3 separate regions of the Homo sapiens genome follow, and regions 2 and 3 are each linked to region 1. Evidence: promoter capture Hi-C in human tissues and cell types (Jung and others, 2019). All regions are on one chromosome and are shown on one strand. The core of a region is centred on a gene start or on the middle of the fragment in contact, and the rest is flanking DNA. Distances in the headings are between cores, read along the strand shown. Region 1 holds the start of HMGCR (3-hydroxy-3-methylglutaryl-CoA reductase). Region 2 overlaps LOC124901007 (a long non-coding RNA gene). Region 3 overlaps CERT1 (ceramide transporter 1).

The links. Contacts are between HindIII fragments. The study calls those that stand out against the background at their distance.
Region 2: a fragment that was not itself captured here is called in contact with the fragment with the promoter of HMGCR in region 1 in 1 of the 25 tissues and cell types used here (adrenal gland).
Region 3: a contact is called between a fragment that was not itself captured here and the fragment with the promoter of HMGCR in region 1, in 1 of the 25 tissues and cell types used here (hippocampus).

What each region holds. Positions count from the first base shown.
Region 1 is chr5:75,334,542-75,339,353 of GRCh38, forward strand. It overlaps HMGCR (3-hydroxy-3-methylglutaryl-CoA reductase), which reads left to right and starts at 2,679. Exons shown (of 20, transcript NM_000859.3): 1 at 2,679-2,759. RefSeq lists enhancers at 2,590-3,150, 3,151-3,709 and a silencer at 2,791-2,910. The HindIII fragment of the contact is 13,606 bases long and covers 1-4,812 here.
Region 2 is chr5:75,285,548-75,290,359 of GRCh38, forward strand. All of the region lies in intron 1 of LOC124901007 (a long non-coding RNA gene), which reads right to left. Among named protein-coding and RNA genes, the nearest start is that of HMGCR, 49 kb to the right of the region's middle. The HindIII fragment of the contact is 4,212 bases long and covers 205-4,416 here.
Region 3 is chr5:75,374,333-75,379,144 of GRCh38, forward strand. CERT1 (ceramide transporter 1) reads right to left here. Exons shown (of 17, transcript NM_001379029.1): 17 at 3,443-4,812. It also overlaps the pseudogene RPS26P26. Among named protein-coding and RNA genes, the nearest start is that of HMGCR, 40 kb to the left of the region's middle. The HindIII fragment of the contact is 9,528 bases long and covers 1-4,812 here.

The DNA.
Region 1 (4,812 bases), core at 1,429-3,928:
ATGTGGGTGGGGCCAGATAAGAGAATAAAAGCAGGCTGCCTGAGCCAGCATTGGCAACCAGCTCGGGTTCCCTTCCACACTGTGGAAGCTTGGTTTTTTTGCTCTTTGCAATAAATCTTGCTACTGCTCACTCTTTGGGTCCACGCTGCTTTTATGAGCTGTAACACTCACCACGAAGGTCTGCAGCTTCACTCCTGAGCCCAGCAAGACTAAGAGCCCACTGGGAGGAACGAAAAACTCCGGACGCGCTGCCTTAAGAGCTATAACACTCACCGCGAAGGTCTGCAGCTTCACTCCTGAGCCAGCGAGACCACGAACCCACCAGAAGAAAGAAACTCCGAACACATCTGAACATCACAAGGGACAGACTCCAGACGCGCCACCTTAAGAGCTGTTAACACTCACCGCGAGAGTCCACGGCTTCATTCTTGAAGTCAGTGAGACCAAGAACCCTCCAATTCCGGACCCATTACTGCACGCCCGCCTGGGCTCTGTCTCTAAAAATAAAAAAATTATACTTTTATAAACTCTTTCCTTGAAGGGTTAAATGCATATGAGGAAGCGGCACATGGACTTCCTTGGCGCTTCCCCCACCCTCCCTTTCTACCTTGTGTCCATACCAAATTTTGTGATTTATCACTAAGTACAAATTATTAGTTAAGTGCTATAAAGATTCTTTTGAAATACCTTTTGGGAAGGATATAGAATTTATTTTAAGAGCATAAAACTAGACAACTGGTGTTTCTTTATTGCTTGCTTTGGAACTCATATTCCTATTGGAGTTCCCAATTAGGCAGTTTGCGAATGAAAATTTCTAAATCTTGGGCTAAAGCCTGTTTTGGTAACAACTTTAGTCCTTATTTGAATTACATTAGTAGGCATGTGTACAACCTGTAACTTCTGAGATATTTGGTCCTTGAGACTTCTAGCGGCATTAAAAATATGACAGGTTCTAGGCTCTCGGTACTTACACACTTTTCTCTCTTTTTTTTTTTTTTTTTTGACAAGGCTGCTAAGAGAACACTGCAATCTTTGGGTAGTTCACCCGTTTTCTTTACTGTGCAAGGTTCATAAAGGCAGGCACTATGTCTGTCATGTTTGTCACTATATCTCCCATGCCAACCACAGTGTGTACTTCACATAATGAGCATTTCAAAGGCAACATTTGGTAAAGAGATATGAATGAAGGTCTTACACTGAAGCAGTGGGGAACAGTAGAACCAGCCTAAGCATTAGATCTGGGTTCAAATTCCAGTTTTGCTCATTATCTATGTGATCTACAGCAAGTTGCTTGACAAACTTTAATTTTTACTTTTTTGTAAAATGGGAATAATACCTATTATATAAGGATTATAAGAATCTATAATCATTTATTAAAACTAAGGAGTGTTTAGTGTTTTCTTCGTAATGTGTTTCAAAATATGGGCTTTAAAAATTGAGTGAAATACAATTCCTGTCCTTAATAAATTTCCACATACGATAGTAAGACAAATAAAAAAATACTACGGAAATTTTATGGGTTTTCAAGGTCGGGAGTGATGATGTGTTTGAGGGAATTAGGAAAGGAGGTGGCATATGAAAAAGTCCTTAAGGGATATTTAGGATCTCAGCAGTTAAAATGGGTAGGCATATCCAAGGTAAACAAAGAGAACATAAGCAGGGAGGTAAAAAGGTACTGAGTGTGACTGAAGAAGGGCCAGTTACTCCTGGCTGAACTGTAAGGTTCGCACAGGAAAGTAGAGATACGTCAGAAATGTGTGGTGGGGCCATATTAGTGGTGACAGGTTCTTTCTTTAATCCAGTAGACAATGAGAAACGCTGATTTGGGTCTATGGCATAATAGGAAGTAGTATGCCACATACTGCATGTGGGAGTTCTGCAGGACAGATTGGGAAGTGCATGCGTGTAAGACTGGGAAGACCAGTTAGGAGAGGCTATTGCACTGTTTTAAGTAAGACATAATAAAGCCCTGCACCAGGCGGAGAGCAGAAGGAACGCACAGAAGACGCAGGAGAGGCACATTTCAGAGAGAATCCAGTATGCAATGGATGTCGCACACAAGAGAGAGAGACGCAGGTGACCGGAGCCATTTACACTAATGGGTAAATCTCGGGAAAGCGCTGGTTTCGGCTACCGGCCAGTTACAGGTTTGAGGTGCCCGTCGCCGCCACCTTCCCTTTTTTTATATTCCTCTTTTTCTCATGGCCGCCTCCGCTTCCCTCCATCTCTCCCGCGCTAGTAACTGAGCTTTCAGTCATCGACCTGACCCTGCGTTTTCCCTCACGCTCCGATTCTGCTTCCTATCACTGCCTCCTACTGTACTATCACAGCCAGGACGAGCACGGGTCAGGCACTGAGGCTGTGGGACACTCCACCCGCCTGGTCCCCTATCGCCTCCGCCTAGGCAGCTGCCATGCGTGCGCCCCCACAGCTCTAGGACCAATAGGCAGGCCCTAGTGCTGGGACTCGAACGGCTATTGGTTGGCCGAGCCGTGGTGAGAGATGGTGCGGTGCCTGTTCTTGGCCCTGCAGAGAGCTGTGGGCGGTTGTTAAGGCGACCGTTCGTGACGTAGCGCCGTCAGGCCGAGCAGCCCCCAGGCGATTGGCTAGACAATCGAACGATCCTCTCTTATTGGTCGAAGGCTCGTCCAGCTCCGAGCGTGCGTAAGGTGAGGGCTCCTTCCGCTCCGCGACTGCGTTAACTGGAGCCAGGCTGAGCGTCGGCGCCGGGGTTCGGTGGCCTCTAGTGAGATCTGGAGGTGAGGCGGGCGGTGACCGAGAAGAGGGGCAGGGGCGGCGGGGAGCGGGGCGGAGATGGGTGGGAGCGGGGTTTGGGCTGTGTTGGTGGCAATTCTGGAGCTTCCCTCGGCCCTGGGAAGTGGCTACCGGCAGCTCCTGCGGACCTGGAGGGGGCTGCGGTTGCGCTTTGTCGGTGTGGCAGCTCGGACCCGCGGGGACTGCAAGGAATGTCCTTGAGGCCCGGCAGGCCGAGCGGCGGCCGGCATCAGTGCCGGAGTAACCCGGGGTCCCGGGGTGGGCTTGAGAGGCGGGCGGCGGTCTGGCCTCTTCGTGACTGCGGTCATCATCGGTGGACCCGCGGGGCGTAGCTGCGTTCATCGTCCCTGTTCAGTCAGAGTAGGCAGTGCTGGCTGCACGGTCACGAAAATCGGGGCGGAAAGGGTGTCAGGCAGGGTGACCTCGGAGGCCCCTGGATTCGAGAAATGCTAGGGGTCTATGGGGCTGTCGGGCCGGCAGCTCGCAGGGCAGACGGGAGAAGCGCCTGCATCCCGGGATCCGGGCATTCACGCCCAGGAACTGCTGTTCGTTAGCACCTTTCTTTTAGGTGACGGGAAAGATCTCTGTAAATACTGCTGACTAACTTAGAACCATGAAAGAACCGTGGATTGGTGTAGATGTGTCTGGTTATTTACAGGAGAACGGCTTGAGAGGATGCGGAGCCCAACGTGGGGATTCGCACAATGACTCAAAAGATTCTTCTCCCTCTTTTTTTTTTTTTTTTTTTGGTAAGGGGTGTAGTCTCCTTGGTGCTGATATTCTTTTAGGAAAAATGTACCTTGGAGATACAAATATAGAACAGTTAATTTCTGCAGTAGGAGGAGGTCGATGTACTCCATTCTTAAGTAGTCGTTTGAAATATTTCAGGATTTGAGGATATTCCTTCTTAGACATGGTCCTGCAGAGTCGTAGGAAGCATTTGTTTCTGGGCTATACTAAATGTGCATGATTTCGGCGTCCCACAAGGTAGAGAATGTACTTTTTGTTTACTTATGAATTTATTTTCCTCTCCATGCAGTGAAAGGCATTTTGCAATTTAGAGATAATCTAGCAAAGACCTGGACAGTACTTTGGGGATAGGCTGGATTTTGCAGGCCTGCTTTGTTGTAGTGTTCTTCCAGAACTTATGATAAACTTGGTGGCCAAAACAAATGGGAATTAGTAACATGAAGGTTAAACAAAATTGCACATAGGTTACAGCATTAACATGAAAATTGTCGGGTATGTGGGATAACCATTTCAAGATAAGAGTGTGAGTATGCGTGCATGCACACACTCTTTGTATTCCTTTATGGTCTAGTTTCTAGACTATAGATAGCCACATTATGGAATTACATGGTCTACTTAGGTTGACCCATGTGAAATTGCCAGTATTTAAAATTCAACTAACCTACAAAAATAGCAGTTTCATATGATTCCATTTAACACTTATCTTTGTCAGAGAACTTTGGAGCTCTAGCTTCATAAGTGAATGAAGAGAATAGATATGACTTAAAAAACAACATGTAATAGAATGTGAGCTAATTGGGTATAGAATCCAGATTTCCTGATTGCCAGTGCAAGATTCGTTTTTTTTTTTTTTTTTTTCCTTCTTTCTGGAATACCAGCTTGAGCAGCAGAATGCTAGATCTTGTTGGGATTGAAAATGACTGCCATATAAGACGCAGTTCTTGGCTTCAAAGAGACAAAATGTACACATTTATTAATTTGAGAACACTGTGAGATAGTATATAATCAAATACTGGAATGTGTAATGCAGGCGGAGTGCTGAGTAGGAGGAAGTAAGATGCCAAAACATCCTTTTCTGCAGTTGGCCATGGTAGGTGGCTTCTGTAGCAGATTGGATTGACATTTAAGAATTATCCATTCTTTTAAAGAATCTGTAAAAGTTTGCAGCATACTTTTTAGTCTGAATAAGTAAGGCATACCTTGCCTATTTGTTTCTTTAAGTAAAATTAATTTTTGGCCGGGCGCGGTGGCTCACGCCTGTAATCCCAGCACTTTGGGAGGCCGAGG
Region 2 (4,812 bases), core at 1,061-3,560, 49 kb before region 1:
TGCAGTGAGCCAAGATCGCTCCACTGCACCCAGCCTCCAGACTCCGTCTCAAAAAAAAAAGCATATCTGATTGCCTCCTTTGGAGAGGCTAATTAGAAACTCAAAAGAATGCAAACATTTGTCTCTTATCTACCTATGACCTGGTAGCCCCCTTCCAGCTTTCAGTTGTCCTGCCTTTCCAGACCGAACCAATGTTCATCTCATATATGTTGATTGATGTCTCATGTGTCCCTAAAATGTATAAAACCAGACTATGCTCTGACCAGTTTGGGCGCATGTTGTCAGGACCTCCTGAGGCTGTGTCATGGGCACGTCATCAACCTCGGCAAAATTAACTTTCTAAATTAACTGAGACTTGTCTTGACTTTTTAGAGTTTGCATTTTGGTAACCATGAAGGGATTCTGAGTGGAGGTTCCCCTGACTATTGACAAATCCCCTACTGGTGCTTGGTACCAACATGAGCTAACTTTATGGCTCAAACCAATAGGATAATTTGCTGAGGTCTGAGAGCACCTGCTCCAGAGAATTCCTGATCTCCCAAAATTTGGTTGAAATCTAAAGTTTATTTTGCTGTACAATTCTTTTTTTTTTTTCTCTTCCATGGTCATGGAAGGCAGGTAACTCCTTTATGAAGTTTGAGCTCACTTCCAAAGGGGAGATGAGGTTTTCTTTTGGTTTTTTTGTTTGTTTGTTTGTTTGTTTTTCCTGCTTCTAGGATGGTAGAGAGAGTCTTCAGCCTGAAATCCATCCCTCGGTAAGTAACCGAATTGAGGTTTGTCTTGGATAAAGCTAAGATTAACAACCAGCTGGTCTTAATTTCTCCTTACCATTAGAACACTCAGTAATCATGTAAGTTGTGCAATCATTTGTTTTGCTTAACATTTTTTCTTATTGTTGTTTGTTTCTGTTTCTGTTGTTGTTTCGGTCTTTTTCCCATTGGGTTTGATCAACTCTATCCAACCAGATCAAACCCAAAGGAAGTTCCAAATTATGAGGAAAGAGGCCTCTGAGGTGGCTAAATTCCCAAACACACACAAAAAAGGATAGTGTGGTGGGAGTAGAAAAATGGCCAGCAAAAGGATAAAAAGAGAGGAAAAAAATTTTTATTTTGACTGCTAAGGGGCTTTATTTACATAACAAGGCCATCTGTTTGCTAGCCAGGCCAAACTGAAGAGCAATGGCTGTACATCTGACATAGCAGCAATTTGTTCTAGCTGAAATATGGTAATGAGATTAAAAAACATCTTTTCGAAGGAGCTCAATGGTTAAAAGCTTAATTAAAAGCAAACATCCAAGGTGTGTGTGTGTGTGTGTGCACATATTTGTGTGTTTGTATTTAAAAGGCCTTCATGTTTTGTTTTTGTTTTTCTCCTAGGACCTCATCTTTTTTTTTTTTTTTTTTTTTTTTTTTTTTTTTTTAAGCAAAAGTTTTTCTTTCTCAGTTGACTGGACTTTTTTTGTTGTTGTTGTTGAGACAGAGTCTCTCTCTTGTTGCCTAGGTTGTAGTGCAATGGCGCGATCTCAGCTCACTGCAATCTCCATCTCCCGGGTTCAAGTGATTCTCCTGCCTCAGCCTCCCAAGTGGCTGGAACTACAGGTGCATGCCACCACACCCAGCTAATTTTTGGTATTTTTAGTAGAGACGGGGTTTCATTTTGTTAGCTAGGATGGTCTTGAGCTCCTGACCTGGTGATCCGCCGTCCTGACCTGGAGATCCACCCTGACCTGGTGATCCACCTGCCTGACCTGGAGCGCCTGACCTGGTGATCCGCTTTTGCTGTGCAGAAGCTCTTTACTTTAATCAGATTCCATTTGTCAATTTTGGCTTTTGTTGCAATTGCTTTTGGTGTTGTAGTCATGAAGTCTTTGCCCATGCCTGTGTCCTGAATGGTATTGCCTAGGTTTTCTTCTAGGGTTTTTATGGTTTTTAGGTCTTACATTTAAGTCTTTAATCCATCTTGAGTTAATTTTTGTATAAGGTGTAAGGAAGGGGTCCAGTTTCAGTTTTCTGCATATGGCTAGCCAGTTTTCCCAACACCACTTATTAAACAGGGAATCCTTTCCCCATTGCTTGTTTTTCTCAGGTTTGTCAAAGATCAGATGGTTGTACATGTGTGGCATTATTTCTGAGGCCTCTGTTCTGTTCCATTGGTCTATATATCTGTTTTGGTACCAGTACCATGCTGTTTTGGTTACTGTAGCCTTGTAGTATAGTTTGAAGTCAGGCAGCGTGATGCCTCCAGCTTTGTTCTTTTGGCTTAGGATTGTCTTGGCTATGCGTGCTCTTTTTTGGTTCCATATGAAATTTAAAGTAGTTTTTTCTAATTCTTTTTTTTTTTTTGAGACAGAGTCTCACACTGTCACCCGGGCTGGAGTGAGCTGGCATGATCTCAGCTCACTGCAACCTCCACCTCCCAGGTTCATGAGATTCTCTTGCCTCAGCCTCCCAAGTAGCTGGCATTACAGGTGCACACCACCATATCCGGCTAATTTTTTTGTATTTTTAGTAGAGACACAGTTTCACTATGTTGGCCAGACTGATCTTGAACCCCTGACCTCATAATCTGCCCGCCTTGGCCTCCCAAAGTGCTGGGATTACAGGGGTGAGCCACCGCACCCAGCCGTTTTTTGTAAATCTGTGAAGAAAGTCAATGGTAGTTTGATGGGGATAGCATTGAATCTATACATTACTTTGGGCAGTATGGCCACTTTCATGATATTGATTCTTCCTATCCATGAGCATGGAATGTTTTTCCATTTGTTTATATCCTCTCTTATTTCCTTGAGCAGTGATTTGTAGTTCTCCTTTAAGAGGTCCTTTACAACCATGGTAAGTTGTATTCCTAGGTATTTTATTCTCTTTGTAGCAATTGTGAATGGAAATTTACTCATGATTCGGCTCTCTATTATTGGTGTATAGGAATGCTTGTAATTTTTGCACATGGATTTTGTATCCTGAGACTTTGCCAAACTTGCTTACAGCTTAATAAGTTTTCGGGCTGAGACAATGGGGTTTTCTAAATATACAATTATGTCAGCTGCAAACAGAGATAATTTGACTTCCTCTCTTCCTACTTGAAAACTCTTTATTTCTTTCTCTTGCCTGATTGCCCTGGCCAGAACTCCCAATATTATGTTGAATATGAGTGGCAAGAGAGGGCATCTTTATCTTGTGCTGGTTTTCAAAGGGAATGCTTCCAGCTTTTGCCCATTCAGTATGATATTGGCTGTGGGTTTGTCAAATAGCTCTTATTATTTTGAGATATGTTCCATCAATACCTAGTTTATTGAGAGTTTTTATCATAAAGGGGAGTTGAATTTTATCAAAGGCCTTTTCTGCATCTATTGAGACAATCATGTGGTTTTTGTCATTGGTTCTGTTTATGTGATGGATTATGTTTATTGATTTGCATATGTTGAACCAGCCTTGCATCCCAGGGATGAAGCTGATTTGGTCATGGTAGATAAGCTTTTTCAAGTGCTGCTGGAATCAATTTGCCAGTATTTTATTGAGGATTTTTGCATTGATGTTCATCAGGGATATTGACCTGAAATTTTCTTTTTTTGTTGTGTCTCTGCCAAGTTTTTGTATCAGGATGATGCTGGCCTCATAAAATGAGTTATGAGGAATCCCTCTTTTTCCATTGTTTGGAATAGTTTCAGAAGGAATGGTACCAGCTCCTCTATGTACCTCTGGTAGAATTCGGCTGTGAATCCACCTGGCCCTGGGCTTTTTTGGTTGGTAGGATATTAATTACTTCCTCAATTTCAGAACTTGTTATTTGTCCATTCAGGGATTCAATTTATTCCTGGTTTAGTCTTGGGAGGGTGTATGTGTCCAGGAATTTATCCATTTCTTCTAGATTTTCTACTTTATTTGCATAGAAGTGTTTATATTATTCTTTAATGGTAGTTTGTATTTCTGTGGGATCAGTGGTGATATCCCCTTTAACATTTTTTATTGTGTCTGTTTGATTCTTCTCTCTTTCCTTCTTTATTAGTCTGGCTAGTGGTCTATCAATTTTGTTGATCTTTTCAAAAACCAGCTCCTGGATTCATTGATTTTTTGAAGCGTTTTTTGTGTCTCTATCTTCTTCAGTTCTGCTCTGCTCTTAGTTATTTCTTGTCTTCTGCTAGCTTTTGAATTTGTTTGCTCTTGCTTCTCTAGTTCTTTTAATTGTGATGTTAGGGTGTCAATTTTAGATCTTTCCCACTTTCTGATGTGGGCATTTAGTGGTATAAATTTCCCTCTAAACACTGCTTTAGCTGTGTCCCAGAGATTCTGTATGTAGTGTCTTTGTTCTCATTGGTTTCAAAGAATTAATTTTTTCTGCCTTAATTTTGTTATTTACCCAGTAGTCATTCAGCAGCAGGTTGTTCAGTTTCCATGTAATTGTGCAGTTTTGAGTGAGTTTCTTAATCCTGAGTTCTAATTTGATTGCACTGTTGTCTGAGAGGCTGTTTGTTATAATTTCCATTCTTTTGCATTTGCTGAGGAGTGTTTTGCTTCCAATTATGTGGTCAATCTTAGAATAAGTGCCATGTGGTTCTGAGAAGAATGTATATTCTGTTGATTTGGGGTGGAGAGTTCTGTAGAAGTCTATTAGGTCTGCTTGGTCCAGAGCTGAGTTCAAGTCCTGAATATCCTTGTTAATTTTCTGTCTCATTGATCTGTCTAATATTGGTAGTAGGGTGTTAAAGTCTCCCATTATTATTGTGTGAGAGTCTAAGTCTCTTTGTAGGTCTCTAAGAACTTGCTTTATGAATCTGGGTGCTCCTGTATCGGGTGCATATATATTTAGAACGGTTAG
Region 3 (4,812 bases), core at 1,628-4,127, 40 kb after region 1:
TATGAATGCAAAATTATTAACCTTACAAATTTGAACTTATTCCATCAGCAAGGAATCAAAGGTATATGGAATTTTTCAAAAGTTAGAAAAAAAAACGGGAACAGTCCTCTCTACAGTCCAGGCCTCCAAGATGACAAAGAAAAGAAGGAACAATGGTTGTGCCAAAAAGGGCCACAGCCACGTGCAGCCTGTTTGCTGCACGAACCGTGCCTGATGCGTGCCCAAGGACAAGGCCATTAAGAAATTCGTCATTTGAAACACAGTGAAGGTCGCAGCAGTCAGGGACATTTCCGAAGCGAGTGTCTTTGATGTCTATGTGCTTCCCAAGCTGTTATGTGAAGCTATATTACTGTGTGAGTTGTGCAACTCACAACAAAGTAGTCAGGAATCGATCTCATGAAGGAGAAGGATCGAACACCTCCACCCCAATTTAGACCTGCGGGTGCTGCCCCATGACCCCCACCAAAGCCCATGTAAGGAGCTGAGTCCTTAAAGACTGAAGATGGACTATTCTCTGGAGAAAAATAAAATGGAAATTGTACTTAATATTGCATGCTGAGTGTATCTGTGCCACCTAGGGTGAGAATTTTGTGTGTGTGTTAGACCAAGTGTGAAGTGACACAGTGTATTTTCATGGAGAAGAAAGCTTATTCATGTAAATCAAATCTTAATTGTTTGCAGTCACATCCTTGGCCTCACAATTTGCATAGTTGTGTAAAATAAAGGGGGCACAGGCACCTGAAAAAAAAAGGGCAATATAGGTGAGCAGAGGTAATCAGTGAAAGGTCTCTGGATTTTTACTCCACAACATGGCATTTCTTTCCTCTTAGCCTGCAATAAAAATTATGACATACAATACTACTTACCAAGAATTTAAAAAATGTATTCAAGCTATGAGAGAGAGGCCTGCCTTATTTAATCAACAAACATGCTCAGACCTCTTTGTCAAATGAGTTTAAAAGTTTTTACTGGCGGGGCTAGGTGGCTCGCACCTGTAATCCCAGCACTTTGGGAGGTTGAGGCAGGCGGATTGCTTGAACTCAGGAGTTTGAGACCAGCTTGGGAAACATGGTGAAACCCCAACTCTACTAAAAGTATAAAAAATTAGCCGGGCATGGTGGTGTGTGCCTATAGTCCCAGCTACCCAGGGAGGTAGGAGGAACACCTGAGCTTGAGAAGTTGAGGCTGCAGTGAGCTGAGATCGCTCCAGTGTACTCCAACCTGGGCGACAGGAGTGAGATGCTGTCTCAAAATAAATAAATAAATAAATAAATAAATAAATAAATAAATAAATAAATAAAATAAATAAAAATATATATTATATATAATATATATATAAAGTTTTTACTGTTAAACAACTTTGGATCTTATTAACTCTTTACAGAACTTTCTCTAAAGATGATACACACATTATTGAATGTTACTATTTTTTTCCATCACCAAAATTAAGAATGTTCGCTTTCCTAGGGTTTCAATGCTGGGTTCGACTTCATACATTTATCTTCCATAATTATTGTAAAAAAAAAAAAAAAGTTACGTTACAGTAACAAAGATTTTACCATGTTAAGGTTTGAATTTGGATCTTTGTTAGAAAGAAGCTCAATCTGGACTCAAAAAGCCAAATCTGAGTTTGGGCCAATGAATCTTTTCAGCTGTATCTTTGCACACATATACATGTACCCACAAACAATAGACCTCTCTTCCCCAGAGATGAATTTTTTCAGATTCCAAGCTCCTCCCTCCCAGGTCCACAAATGAAAAATCTGTGAACATACACATGCACACACACAGAGAGTCAATGAAACACCGCTCTAAATCCAAGTCTAGAAGCAAATGCTGCTAATATCCTACCATTTATCTTTCAACTGTTTAAAAAATTATTCTTCTCAAATATAATTGAGAGCATGTTTTACACACAACTGCATTCAGATTTCTCTTGCTTTAATACAAAGTTGTATTTCTGCCTTGCTTGGTTGAATATCTGAGAACCTTTGGTAAGGAAGTCATCATAAAGCATCAAGAGGGAGGCCGTTTCAGTGAGGTCATAGTGAAGAAGAGAGAAGGCAGATATAGTTAGAGTGAAACAAAATCTGGTCTTGGATAGAGTGAAACAGCACCACTTTAAAAACCCTAGAGGCCATGGCAAAGAGACACACAGCGAAGCAGGGTGATAAGCCTGTTGCTGTCACGTGCCATCAGTTTTCTGGTTTATTTGATAAATATGGCACAGACTCAGAATCGATAAGAAGTAATGTGTCCAGATCTAGCTATAACAATTCTAAAGTACAAGATATAAAAATTGTCAGCACACTGAATGCAGTGCACTTGTGCTTGAAGAGAGAATCCCTAAAGGGTAAGGCTATATTCCAAAACACCAATCATTCAGGTAACTAAGACTGGAACCTATTTAATATTTTCAAATACCCTTTTTCCTGGGATAAAGCTAAACAACTGAGACATCAATGCAATATCCCTTATGTTAGTATGGGATATTAGTTAGTATCGGACAATAAATTTAGCTTTTGCATTTTTTAAAAGAAAGACATACTATAAACATCATTAGAAATCAGACTTGTTTAAAATTATTTCATTATATAATTGACTATTATTTTTAGCTAAAGAAAAGGACTCAAGAATATACATTTCTCAGTCAATTATTTAACATCCAGTGTAGGTGAGAATGAGAGAATATTCATGTTATTGCTTACCATTTGTGTATCACAATTGGCAATATCTACTAATATTTTAAATGTTATTACAAAATAGAATTTATAGAAATAGTACTATACAAAAGATTCTCAATGGACTAAAGCAGGCTTAAACTCAGTCATAAGAAGAGGAATACAATTAAAACTACACTGAGAGAGTATTTTTCACCTAATGAGTTGGGAAAGTTATAAAGTTTTGTTTTACACGTTGTATGAAAAACTGTGGGACACAGGGACTCCAATTCATTATTGCTGTTGAGATGGTCAATTACTATAACCTCTATGAAAAGTAGTATCTAAATTATGCACAAACCCCTAGCAGGGCCAGTAGTACCACATCTATTAATTTTCCCACATATAAACTTGCAAGTACAAAATGACATATGGATACAATTATGACACTGCTCTGGCAGAAATTGGAAACTGTAATATTCGCCAATGCAGAACTGATTAAATAAATTATGTACATCTATACAATGGGATACTGTATAACCATCAAAATGAGGAAGCTCCTTACAAATATGTGAGACCTTCAAGATAAAATAAATGCAAATATAAGATGTTGAACAGTGTTTATAGTATGCTGCTGCTTCTTTAACAACAAAAAAAGTGTATCTGTGTAGAAAATACACTTGTATTTGTTCATTCAAGCATTAAAAACTTTCTAGAAGAAACTAGTAATAGCATATGTTAATACTATATGGTGAATGCAAGACAGGGTAAATTTTACTGTATAACTTTTTCATACTTTTGACTTTATTTATTTATTTTTTGACAGACATTACCTGTCCAGGCTGGAGTGCAGTCGTGTAATCACAGCTCACTGCAGCCTCAAACTCCCAGACAAAGCGATCTTCCTGCTTCAGCCTCCCAAGTACCTAGGACTATACATGTATACCACCACGCCTAATTGTTTTTTGTCAAGATGGAATCTTGCTATGTTATCCAGGCTAGACTTGAACTCCTGGCCTCAAGCCATTCTCCCACCTCAGTCTCCCAAAAAGTGTTGGGATTACAGGTGTGACCCACTGCACCTGGCCACTTTTGGCTTTTAATCATGTTAACGTATCACTTACTTTAAAAAGTTAAAGATTTTGGGCTGAGTGCAGTGGCTCACGCCTGTAAACCCAGCATTTTGGGAGGCCCAGGAGAGCAGGTCACCTGAGGTAAGGAGTTCGAGACCAGCCTGGCCAACATGGTGAAACCCTGCCTCTACTAAAAATACAAAAATAGGCTGGGCGTGGTGATGGACGCCTGTAATCCCAGCTACTCGGGAGGCTGAGGCAGGAGAATCGCTTGAACCTGGGAGGCAGAGGTTGCAGTGAGCCAAGATTGCACCACTGCACTCCAGCCTGGGCAGCAAGAGAGAAACTTTGTCTCAACAACACCAAAATAAAGTTAAAGATTCTACCTCTTTGCATAAAGGTGTTCAGTGCTGTACTGGTTGACAGTAAAAATATGGAACCAACTCAGACATTAACATGGGACTAGTTAATAAATTCTGCAACATGCATGTAACAGATGTTAAAAGAATGAGATGTTTTACACATCTCATGTCTTATAAAGAAAGATAGTCAAGATACATTGTTAAGTGAAAAAAAGGTTATAAAACAAGAATTTTGTATAATAGTAAGTATAAACATTTTAACATTCAAAAATATGTCAGTACATACACAGAAAAATCTGGAGGAATATACAACAAAAATAACAGTTTCTGGGAAAGGAAAGAATACAGGAAGTTTGCACTTCTACAATTCTACAGTTCTATAATATCAAAATTTCTTTACATAAGCATTAGAAGAAAAAGGAAACAATAAAAGAATTAAGTTTTAAAGGCTATAAACTACAATTTTCAAGGCCAGGCACGGTGGCTCATGTCTGTAATCCCAGCACTTTGGGAGGCTGAGGCAGGAGGATTGTCTGAGGCCAGGAGTTCAAGACCAGCTTGGGTAACATAGCAAGACCCCTATCTCTACAAAAAATAAAAAATTAGCTGAGCATGGTGGCACATGCCTGTGGGGACTCCCAGCTACTGGGAAGGCTGAGATGAGAGGATTGTTTGAGGCCAGAGGTTGAGGTTGCAGTGAGCCGTGATGGTGTCATT